4 separate regions of the Homo sapiens genome follow, and regions 2, 3 and 4 are each linked to region 1. The links are contacts of gene promoters, found by promoter capture Hi-C in blood cells and fetal thymus (Javierre and others, 2016). All regions are on one chromosome and are shown on one strand. The core of a region is centred on a gene start or on the middle of the fragment in contact, and the rest is flanking DNA. Distances in the headings are between cores, read along the strand shown.

The links. Contacts are between HindIII fragments. The CHiCAGO score rates a contact against its expected background, and 5 or more counts as called.
Region 2: a fragment that was not itself captured here is called in contact with the fragment with the promoter of IGFBP5 in region 1 in 3 of 17 cell types (total CD4 T cells, naive CD8 T cells and activated CD4 T cells); the score reaches 7.5 in total CD4 T cells.
Region 3: a fragment that was not itself captured here is called in contact with the fragment with the promoter of IGFBP5 in region 1 in 16 of 17 cell types (non-activated CD4 T cells, total CD4 T cells, naive CD4 T cells and 13 more); the score reaches 18.5 in non-activated CD4 T cells.
Region 4: a fragment that was not itself captured here is called in contact with the fragment with the promoter of IGFBP5 in region 1 in 16 of 17 cell types (naive CD8 T cells, total CD4 T cells, neutrophils and 13 more); the score reaches 21.4 in naive CD8 T cells.

Annotation. Positions count from the first base shown.
Region 1 is chr2:216,694,014-216,696,941 of GRCh38, forward strand. IGFBP5 (insulin like growth factor binding protein 5) reads right to left here and starts at 1,536. Exons shown (of 4, transcript NM_000599.4): 1 at 426-1,536. The coding sequence starts at 762. IGFBP-AS1 (IGFBP5 antisense RNA 1) reads left to right here and starts at 433. Exons shown (of 6, transcript NR_187138.1): 1 at 433-748. The HindIII fragment of the contact is 8,390 bases long and covers 1-1,990 here.
Region 2 is chr2:217,774,740-217,777,667 of GRCh38, forward strand. All of the region lies in intron 2 of DIRC3 (disrupted in renal carcinoma 3), which reads right to left. Among named protein-coding and RNA genes, the nearest start is that of DIRC3, 14 kb to the right of the region's middle. The HindIII fragment of the contact is 1,049 bases long and covers 1,045-2,093 here.
Region 3 is chr2:217,736,878-217,739,805 of GRCh38, forward strand. The region is part of intron 2 of DIRC3 (disrupted in renal carcinoma 3); the gene reads right to left. Among named protein-coding and RNA genes, the nearest start is that of DIRC3, 52 kb to the right of the region's middle. The HindIII fragment of the contact is 2,399 bases long and covers 193-2,591 here.
Region 4 is chr2:217,697,868-217,700,795 of GRCh38, forward strand. All of the region lies in intron 2 of DIRC3 (disrupted in renal carcinoma 3), which reads right to left. Among named protein-coding and RNA genes, the nearest start is that of DIRC3, 91 kb to the right of the region's middle. The HindIII fragment of the contact is 3,270 bases long and covers 1-2,928 here.

The DNA of each region.
Region 1 (2,928 bases), core at 286-2,785:
TAACAAAAGAGATTTTTTTTCCAAGTTCAGAAAAAAACCTATGCGGGGCGCGAGGGGGGTGGAGGAGGGAGTTGATAATGTAACATACACTCTTTCAGACTGTAGATAGGGTACCAGGGGATTTGGACCTTGTGACCGAATAAGAGCTCAGAATCAGTATTCGGACAGAGTAGGGGGAGGGGGCGGGCAACGTGTGGGTAGGAGGAAGGAGAAAGAGCGAAAGCTGGGATAGACTCGGCTAGACAGTTCCCCCGGGTAGCAGGATCCTCCAGGGCTCCAATTCCGGGGTGCAAGGACCCTCCCCGACTACTCCCGAGCTGCACCCCAGCTCGAAGCCACTTGCTGCGCAAAGCGCGCGGGCCCAGCCGGTCTCGTGTCCCCCGCCCGTGCGCCGCGTAACTGACTGGCACACTGAGCGCGCTCACCGATCTTGACTTGCTCGCGGTAGCTCTTTTCGTTGAGGCAAACCCCGCGGCCGTGCAGCAGGGCGTGCAGCGGCTTCTCCTCGTCCTGCCGGGGGAGGCAGCGCAGCCCCTGGGCGCAGCGCTCGGTGTAGACGCCGCACGACTGCCCCTCGGCCAGGGCGCAGGTCATGCAGCAGCCGCAGCCCGGCTCCTTGACCAGCTCGCAGCCCAGGGGGCTGGGGGGGCACATGGAGAGGGCTTTCTCGTCGCAGGGCTCGCAGTGCACGAAGGAGCCCAGGCTCTGGGCCGGCCCCGCATAGGCGGCCAGCAGCAGGAGGACCGCGGTGAGCAACACCATCTTCTCTTAGTCGCCCCCTTTACCTCGGGGTGGGGCAGGAGAGCGAGAGTGCAGGGATAAAGGGGCCAAGAGGGCCCCCGGAGATTTTTTTGTTTTTGTTTTTGTTTTAAAATTTCTGGCAGGTAGAGCAGGTGCCCTCCCCCAGACACTTGCAAAAATGTAGAGAGAGGTGGAGGGCTGGGGTGCCTGCGAGCAGGTCCCAGTTGCAAGAATTAAAGCCTTGCAACAGGTTGGGGGAAGCAGGGCAGCGCCAGGTGCACGCAGTGAGCGGAGGCCGGAGAAACCCTCAAGCCTGAGCGGGTCAGAATTATAGGGGAAAAAAAGCCACAAAATTGTTCACCCCCAAGCAACCACCGAAATAATGAGATCGGATGCAGTGGAGATGGCGTTGGGGGTGGGAGAGAAAAATGGATTTATCTTTAAAATTTTTGCTTAAAATCTAAAATACACCCCGCTTTCTAACCCTCAGCTGCCAGCGGTGCGCGGCGCCGCAGAACAGGTAAGAGGCGTTGGCTGCAGCCGAGAGGGTGGGAGAAAATGTTGAAATCAAGAAATTAAAAAACAAAAACAAAAACAAAAAAACCCCAAACCCTAACACCTCTTTTCTCCCACTTTGCCACCTCCTCTTCGAAATTCGCAGGTTCTACGCGAAGTCCGGAGAAGGGTGAAAACGGAGGAGGGGTAATGAAAAGGAGCAAAAAAGGGAAAAAGCCCACACTGCTTTGCAGCTCTTTCCTAGCTCTTTTCCCCTGCAGAAGTTTCCAAAGAGACTACGGGGCTCCGGGAGAGCAGGCGCTTTTAAATAGCCGGCCCCTGGCTGCCAGCCAGTTTGTAGCTGCAATTTGAGCTTCCCAACACCCAACTCAGGCAAGGATGCCAAGGAGCTTTGCAGTACAAACTCACACGGGGTGGGGGTGGGGAGAGGCCTTCTAGACACAAGGGGGCTCCCCTTCGCTCCCTGAACAGCGCCCTCCTCCCCTCTGAACAGCGCCCTCCTCCCCCCGGAATGTAAGAAAGGGGCAAGGGGGACAGGCTGGGGCTACCGAGAATGGGGAGGAGGTGGAGGGGCCAGTGGAAGACAGAGTTCTTCGGAGCAGGGTGAACACAATGAGGAGAGTAACTTCGTCTCCCCTTCCCTCCTATCCTTTAAGTAGTCAAGGCACAGGCTGAAGGGAGACGTATTTTCTTATTAGCCAACTGGATATACCGTGCCCAAGAAATCTTCCTAAGCTTCTGCAATTGACTGTATGCTGGTGTCTGTTTCCATGTGGGGTGTGTGTGTGTGTGTGTTTGGGGGACAGGTAGTGTAGAATGGCCAGTGATGTCTGGTGAGCTAAATTTAAAAAAGAAGAAAAAATTGAATTTCTCCCCTAAAAGTCTGGAGAAGAGGATTTAATCAGGGGGTTTCAGTACTCATGATGAAGAGGTGACCAGTTGCCTTCAGCTGCGTTGGCCAGGGAGGTTCTCTCTCTCTTTCTCTCTCTCTGTGTGTGTGTGTGTATGTGTGTGTGTTGTGTATCTGCAGGAATGGACATTCATACAACAGCATTATTGAGAGCAGTGAGTTGCAGAGATGGACACTTTGGAGGAAATGCTAAGTCTGAAAACCTTGCATGGTGGCCTAAAGTGTCCTTGTGTGTGGGGTTCTTAGAGGGAAGAAAGGTGGATTGGAGTGACACTTCCCTCTCTGTCACTTTGCAGAGGTATTTCTATTGGGCAGGGCCACATCCCTGGAGGGAGTGGGTGGCAGAGTAGCTGGAGGAGACCTTGTGATAGGTTGACAGGTTAGTTGGTGCTTATAGGCACATCCCAGGAATATGAGCTGACAGGGCCACAGGACCTGCTTGGAAGAGGTCCTGACCAGGAACCGAATCATGCCACTAGAACCTCTTTAATAAAATGAAAGAAAACTAAGGCCTTGAAATAGGAAGGTGGTGGTTTTAGCTTTTTCTGAAATTGACCTGAGTGAGCCATGAGCCTCACAGGCAAGTCAGAGAGAAATGACCAATGTCACTGCCCCTGCTGGGTGGACTTGGTGTGGGCTGTTACACCTTTTACATTGTGCTTCCTCCCTTGAGAAGTATTCTAACTTTCCTTTGGAGAAGGGGCTGCATTTCATGAAGTTTGCCACTAGACTGCACCCTTATCTATGATAAGAATTCTTTC
Region 2 (2,928 bases), core at 319-2,818, 1.1 Mb after region 1:
ATGTTATTTTCCTTTGTGAGCCAACCATTTGGGCTAAAAATGATGGCATAGAAGGAAAGGGAGAAGTAGGAAAATCCATTGTTCTTTTTCCTTTTAGTCCTTCCTTACTCATTAGTAAGCTTAAGATAGACATCGTTGGTAGAATGTGTGCATATCAAGAACTAAACTAACACCACTATCATTAGGAAAATGCAAACCAAAACCACAATAAGGTATCATCTCACTCCAGTTAGAATGGCTATTACAAAAAAGACAAGAAATAACAAATGCTGGCAAGAATGCAGGGAAAATGGAACTCATCCATTTTGGTGGGTGGGGATGTAAATTAGTACAGCCATTATGGAAAACAGTTTGAAGGTTTTTCAAAAAATTGAAAATAGAACAGTGACACAAAACAGCAATCCCACTACTGGGTATTTAACCAAAAGAGAGGAAATCAGTATATCAAAGGGATACATGGACCCCCATGTTTATTGCAGCACTATTCAAAGAGCCAAGATATGGAATCATCCTAAGTATTCTTCAAAGGATGCACAGATAAAGAAAATGTGGTGTCTGTATACACAATGGAATACTATTCAGTCATTAAAAATGATGAAATAGTGTCATTTTCAGCAACGTGGATAGAATGGAGGTCATTATGTTAAGTGAAAAAAGCCAGACACAGAAAGACAAATATTGCATGTTCTTACTGATATGTGGAAGCTAAAACATTGATCTCATGGAAGTAGGAAGTAGAATGATAGTTACCAGAGGCTGGGAAAGGTGGGAGTAGAAGAAGAAAAGATGTTATTTAATGGGTACAAACATATCATTACATGGAAGAAATAGGTTATAATTTGATGGCACAGACAGCTAACTATAGTTAATAATAATTTATTGCATATTTCAAAACAGCTAGAAGAGAAGATTTGAAATGTTCCCAACAAAAGAAATAAATGTTTGGGGTGTTGGATATCCTAAATACCCCGACTTAATCATTACACACTGTATGCAGGTATCAAAATATCACATGTACCCCATAAATACAATGGGACTCCAAAAAGCTTATGAGAAAACATGGAATCAAAATATACACTTTATTTCTCCACATAAACTTTACCAAAGTCAAGACACTTTTGTAAGCTATGACACCAGCCATTTAATACATTTCTAAAGAACTGAGGGTCCTGGAAATTTAACCATGTCAATGCAGTCTTTTTACATTATTAAACAGAGAAAAATGGATGCCCTCTACAGATTTTTAAGATTAGGAAACAAAAAGAAGTCAGAAGGGGCCAAATCGGGACTGTAATGTGGATGCCTAATGATTTCTCATCAAAACACTTGCAAAATTGCACTTGTGTAATAAGAAAAATGTCACGGTGGAGAAGAACTCTCTAGTGAAGCCTTCCCAGGGGTTTTCTGCTAAAACTTTGGCTAACTTTCTCAAAACATTCTCATAATAAGCAGATGTTATCACTCCTTGGCCCTCTAGAATGTCAACAAGCAAAATGTCTTGAGCATTCCCAAAACCTGTTGTCGTTACCTTTGCTCTCCACCAGTCTGCTTTCGCTTTGACTGGACCACTTCCACCTCTTGATAGCCATTGCTTTGACTGTGCTTTGTCTTCAGGATCATACTGGTAAAGCCATCTACCAGGATCATACTGGTAAAGCCCTGTTTCATCTCCTGTTACAAGTCTTCAAAGAAATGCTTCAGGATCATGATCCCACTTGTTTAAAATTTCCATTGAATGTTGTGTTCTTATCTGCAGATAATCTGGGCACAAAAGTTTTGGCACCCATCAAGTAGAAAGTTTGCTCGACTTTAATTTTTTAGTCAGAATTACATAAGCTGAACCAGTTGAGATGGCAATGGTGTTGGCTATTGTTTGTGCTGTTAATCATCAGTCCTCTTCAATTAGGGCACAAACAAGATGAATTTTTTCCTCACAAATTGATGTGAATGGTCTGCCTCTACAGGCTTCATCTTCAACATTTTCTTATCCCTTCTTAAAACAAGTTATCCATTTATAAAGTGCCAATTTCTTTGGGGCATTTTCCCCATAAACTTTTTGTAAAGCATCAGTGACTTCACCATTCTTTCACCAAAGCTTCACCAGAAACATATGTTTGTTCTTGCTTTAATTGTAGCAGAATTCATGTTGCCCTGATAGGGGCTCTTGTCAATCTGAGGCCTTATCCTTCTTAGTGCCTCAAGCTAGATCCTGTTTAGACATGCTGTAACTAATTAGTATGAGTTCATTTTGGTACAAAAAAGTTGGAAATTCATGCATCATTTTTTCATAATACACATTTTCCATGAAGTTTTTGAAGTCCCCTCATATGTACAATTACTTTGTACCAGTTAAAAATAAAAAATAAAATAAAATAAAATAAAATAAAAACAGTTGAATTTGTTTGGGTTAGCATTTCCACTGAATGTATGAGCTATAAATAATTGTGTAATTTAAGTGATTTTACTTGTGAGTTAAATATTCTTATATTTACATTTAAAACTGGCATTGCACAATATAAAGACGAATGTTATCATACAAATAATTTTTTTATTTGTACTTAGAATGAAATTGAATACCAATTTTAAAATGCCATGACAACTAGGAAAGAAAGGAAAATGCTTTATATTTTAGTATCTTTAATGGCATTTTTTTCTCCTGGCATTTTACACAAGGGGCCCTGCCTATTCATTTTGCACTGGGACCCGCAAATTAGGTAACCTGTTCTTCAGAGCTTTTTGACTTTCATTACAGCACTTTTATTCAGCATGTGCTCGTATCACTTTAATTATTTTTCAAAATATATGTGCAAGTTTTTAAAAATAAAAATAAAGCTAGACTTTTCTGCTTCTGAGAAAATAGAGCAGATGCACTTTTCCCTATTTCCCCTATTAATTATGACTAAAACTCTGGAATGAATATATACACAC
Region 3 (2,928 bases), core at 142-2,641, 1.0 Mb after region 1:
AATGACAAACTAAGGGATTTTTCTGGTTCCAGTAACTTGGTATGGATTAAAAAGCAACAACTTTCGTCACTCAGCACTCATGGTGTTTTCCTCAATTTACAAAGTAATAAGAGTTGGCATGAAACTTGAGAGTTATTCATATCCTTGTAGGGTTTAACTTAAGTGGACATGTCACAAGAAATGTCCTAATAAAGCTTTGATTATGAAATTACCAATTTTCCATCTGCCAACAATATTAGGGAAAAGGCTACTTTATTGTACTTAGGAGTTTGCCTCTTTTTCAACTTGCTTTTTACAACTTCACTCATCAATAGTTTTAACAATGTGTTCTATTCCATTCCAGGATGTGGGAGTCAATCATGTGTAACAAAAGGCCACCACTGCCACATGCCCTAAGACATGAACAAACCCCTCATAAGCTGAGTCAGCAGATCTAAATTGATAGCCAGACAGCAGAGGCTGAGGACAGCGCCTCCCTCAAAGCCAAACAACAGGGGTTCCTGGACTGGGCCATTCTTTAGAGGCCCCACTCTGGCCTTCCTCTGGCCTTGGGGCTCTTCACAGGGCAAGGATTTCACAGGCCCAAGAGAAGATACCAGACCAAAGCTCAGGGCTTCCTTCTGAACCACACACTCTGGGTTCCTGTCTGGGCCTCTGCCCAGGGTGTCCCCCTGCAAGATTGGAGCCAACCACCCCTCTAGCGCGCGCACACACACACACACACACACACACACACACACACACACACACCCCTAGACTGAAGGGGCAGCAAGGCTGGGCTGCAAGAGCTGGCACCACCACCACTCCTACCCTTGTGTGCACACAGACACTCTAGATTCAAATTGGGGGCTTGGGTAGGAGGAGCAGAGGGGTGGGCGGGGGCGAGGGACAGTCCTCCCTGCTCCAGTATATTCCAGCTCAGGTATCTGCAGAGTCTGAAGTTCTAAATTTAGAAGCTGATTTTCTAGGTTGTCATAAAAGGTATTATGTCTCCCAAATTACAATTCCTAAGACCCCCCAAATAAATGCCAATATCTTACATCTTACCTGGCTTCATTTCAGTTTGGTTAACAGTATTTTGTCAAGGATGAAAGAAAGAACATACAAGTTTGCAGCTTTGCTTATAATTCTTGAATACTTAGCCATATACTATGGAGGAATGAAGTAAGAAATGGAGCCCTCCATTCCCACTCCCACCCTGGGCCCCTCTGAAGTCAAGGCTGAGCAGAGAAGGCACTTCTCCCTATGGAGGCCCTGGGAGCCCACTGCTGCAGGGTACAAAGCCTTCGGGGAGGGAGCCGGCAGCACTAATCCCAGAGCAGCCTCCAATCTTTCTCTGAGAGAAGGAAAGAGGGACTTTCCTGGGAAGTGGGGTGAGTTGCCCTGGTCACTGCAGTTCCTAAAAGTCAGCTGTTTCCAAACAGGGAAGAGAAGGAGATGAAATCAAAGAGCTTGTGCTGGGGAGGCAGAGGGGGCCTAAATGGTCTTTAAAAGGGCCTAGAGGGGTGACTTTCTTTTGCTGATTGTCTACGAGGCTTGGAAGGACTTTGAGAGAAGGTGGAAGGGGTGGAGTAAGAGGGCAGAGGCAATCCTGGTTTTCCCTTACCTTAGGGCTGCTCGGCTGAAGGAGTGGGGTTGGGCTCTAGGTCAGGTGGCAGCAGAGGTTGCTGGGTCCAGAGGAGTTCCCAGGACAAGACTCTTAGGACTGCCCATCACTTCCAGCACGCAGGGCGTACTTCTCCATGAGGCACAGTGCAGTGCCTAGAAGCCACAATATTTCTAGGGGCCCTCAAAAATGTTTTTATTTTAGTTGTCTTTCAAAAATCAGAAGAAAAAATGAATAGAATACAAATGAGTATACAATCATGAATCCAGCCGGAATTACATTTGTTTTTATGCCAATGTAGTCATAAAGTATAAATTTTAATATTTTTCTCCAGGGGTAGGACTCATGAGGGCGAAGTGCCCACAGAAGTCACGCTGTGGCCCTGGGCAGCAAGAGGCCTTCTGAGGGCTGCAGCCCCATGGGGAAGACGCAGCTCAGATCTGAGGACTAACTCCACCAAAGCTGTGAGTGTAACAGCGGCCAATTGAATGTAGGAATCCAGTTAAAGCACTTAGCACCAGTCCAGGAACACAGCAATAAGTACAGGGTATCCTGGTAACTGCTCATGACCATTGGCCACCAATAAATGGTTGAGTATGCTGGGTAAGAGCACAGGCTTTGAAGCCAGACAAATCTAGGTTTCCATCCCTGTTTTGCATCTCACCAAAGCTGTGACTTTAGGCAAGAATCTCAGTTTCTCCAGCTGGAAAATGTGGATAATACCCTCAGAGGACAGTACAGAGCCCCACACATAATAGCTGCTCAATGAATGGTAACGATGAATACTGACAGTTTCAGGACCAGCCAAAAGGCAGGTACCCACAGGGTAAATGAGAAGCATCTCCCATCCCAGAACATCTCCCCTCCCCAGCCTGTCCCTCATTGCTTCAAATCTGCTATGTGAACTGATGTTTGTTAAAATGTAGACAAGATTCCCAAGAGCAAAGTAAGACAGTGAGCTTGGGGGAATGGGTGTGAAGGCAGAAGCTTGCCAGAGCCTCACCACGCCTGTCAGCTCAGCATCCAGGAGGCATAAGTAGAACTGGGGCAGGGGCTCTGGAATAATCTGAATGACAGATTCTTGATCCAGGACTAGAAAAAAAAAAAGAGAGAGATTGAAGGAAAGAGATGGGCTACCAGCCAGGGAGAGGCAACTTGCAAACGTTTCCACTCTCACAGGTGATCTTACTACTCAGCCAGATGGGTTGGTTCATCTTCCCATTTGCATTAATATGCCCTCCAGAGGTCATTTCATCCTTCCCTCTGCCTCCAGACAGGATGACTAAGAAACCCAAGGGATACCGGTGGACCTACTTGCTTTT
Region 4 (2,928 bases), core at 162-2,661, 1.0 Mb after region 1:
ATGGGGCAGGTGCATCTGCGCTAGACCAATCCATCTGGACTAGACTTGCAAAGATAAGGAAGACAAGATTTAAAGAAAAGTTTAATTGATTTCATTTTCCTTTGAATGAATCTGTAGACTACAAGAAATCAATATTGGGACTTTGCTGTTTCTGAGGCATTCTCAATTATCTTTCATCCTTTATTACCTGCAAAATTAAAAGATTCTACTGCAAAGGCCTATCCTTCTGTCTTTCTTTCCTTTGAACAGTGTTGATCGAGGGCCTTCTCTGTTTTACGCAGTATGCTGCCACTGAAAATACACAAGACAAGTAAGATAGAGCCCACCAAGGAAGGAGTTCAAGTTCAATAGGAGAAATAAACAAGGAAACAAGTATAATTCATGCTCAGACCTTCTCTCGCAGTTCCTGCAGCCCAGCCACAGGCTCTGGCCTCTCTCATTCTATTGCAGGTACAACACACAGCCCCTTCTCTGGCACATCTACCCCATGGCCATGCCCACAAACCATTCGGTTATTTTTAATAACTTATATTAAGCCTTTCAGGAGACAGGATCACCCCCCCCCAACCCTGCCAGTCTCTTCTACCTCTTGGCTGCCCTTCACTTCTTTCTCTTTTTTCCTCTCCTTACTCCCCTTTCTCAGAAGCAACACAAATTTCCCTACTTATCCTACACATAGCAGTTCTGAGGGCATCTTTTATCACAGCCTTCAGCTGAGCATGCCCTTGTGTGTCACCCTCCCCCATAGTGACTCAAAATCTTTCTTCAAAATAAATACAGGACCCTCCCTAAAAAAGTTCTGGAGAGGGAGGGAAGCGGGCCTCCATCTGTGCTCAGACCACAGAGCTGCACTCAGAATGGAATGGGTCCTGTCCGGTACAAGATAGAAGAGGCAGCCTGGGTGGGAAATAATAAAGAGAATTCTGGTGGATGCAGTGGATTTCTTGTTCTCAGCAAGACCATTCCAGAAATGTAGGGAGTTGGCCCATGGGCTCGCCAATGTTTGGGTTATGTTTCAACCTTGATTGAGCACCAGAACTGTGCACAGTGCCAACTCCCAAGTGCTTTGAGGAGGGCTGGGTACATCATGCTTCTCTGTTTTTGTTTTTGGGTTTTCCCCCCATGTGCCTGGGATGTTTCTTCCATTAAAACCAGGACTTTTCCTCCCTCTGCGCCTCCACACAGAATCCAGCCCAAGCCAATCAATACCCCTAGGACATGCTAAATCTATTTTAGTGCCAAAAAATATAAATAATTTATTTGAAAAAATGCTGATAACTCCACAGAGAACTTTTTCATGCGCTGTGTCATTTCACTCCAAATTCCTTAATGAGAAGGGGGTCTCTTGCTCAGTGGTGACACGGCAATGCTAGGCTGTTTCTTTAGACATTTCTGCCTAGAAAGAGAAGGAAGACCCCTGAGCACGAAGCAGGTTCTTCCCACAACGTGGTGTGGGAGTCTCTGCTTCTCCTCCTCTGACATACAGCTCTTCCTATGTCCTTCTTATACACAGGATCTGCATCTCAATTCAGAACTCCAGATGTGGTCTCTCCAGCAGACAAGCATTCTTGCTAAGGTATCCTAAATAGAACATTCCAGAAAAACACGATTATTGTCTTCAAAGAGACCTGTCATGTAAAAGATGTATTAAATTTACCCAGCACTATGTCAGAAGAGAAGAATGAAAACGATAGGGGCTGCTAGAAGGCAAAAACATAGTCATTGTGTAAAAAAGGCTTTTAAACCAAAACTAGAATTGAGCTATTCTGAACACCTGAAGTTAGGTATTATCTCAGCTTTGGTCTCCTCAATATCGATTCATAGCATTGATTTGCACGGGGTATTAGAATGTCCTGGAGAAATAACTTGATCCATGGCCAAACTTGGGGTTCAGACACAGAAATAAGCATGATTAATTTGAAGTGTGTAGATAGAACATGTTAAGAGAAGCTCTATTTCAAGGGCAGCAGAAAAGGAGAATCTGTAATGGAGGCAGGAAAATACTGGATTGCGGGACACAGCCCCAGACCTAGGCATCAAGGCTGAGAGTGGAAGTTCTGGGAGAAGCAAGGTGGTGGACTTGCTTTAATCCACTCCAGTCCCAGGGACCCTAATGGCATGAGCATCCCATTGAAAGGAACAGGTCTTGTGTATACATTAAAATAGCCATGATAGCTAAGGACTCAAGCAATTCCTCAGAGAGAACCACAGAAGAGTAGCCTAACAGGAAAAGGAAACCATTTCTATCCTGGCTGGAAAAAATTATCATCAAGTAGCTTGGAGCAACAGGGAGTATGTCAGTTGTCTAGGGCAGAAAGGCCCTGGCACAAGATACAGAACAAGTGCAAGTTCATAGACAGAGCCTGGGACCCAGCCACTGGGACATCAGAACTACTGGCCCAGAAGACAGTAGTGGCCCCAGCTCCAGCAGTGGCTTGGCAGATTCAGACATCCATGTGAGGTAGCCCTTATGGATTTTCACAGAGGAAGTGGGGAGAGTCCTCTCATAACCATCATTATCACAAGGACCAAAATCCTGAAGCCACACAGAGGAAGGTCACTGATATGGTTTCACTATGTCCCCACTCAGATCTCACCTTGAATTGTAATTCCCATAATCCCCATGTGTCAAGGGCAGGACCAGGTGGAGGTAACTGAATCATGAGGGCAGTTTCCCCCATGCTTTTCTTGTGATAATGAGTGAGTCCCACGAGATCTGATGGTTTTATAAGCATCTAATATTTCCCCTGCTTACTCTCATTCTCTCTCCTGCCACCTGTGAAGAGGTGCCTTCCACCATGATTGTAACTTTCCTGAGGCCTCCCCAGCCATGCAGAACTGCGAGCCAATTTAACCTCTTTTCTTTATAAATTACCCAGTCTCGGATGTTTCTTCATAGCAGGGTGAAAATGGACTAATACAGTCACC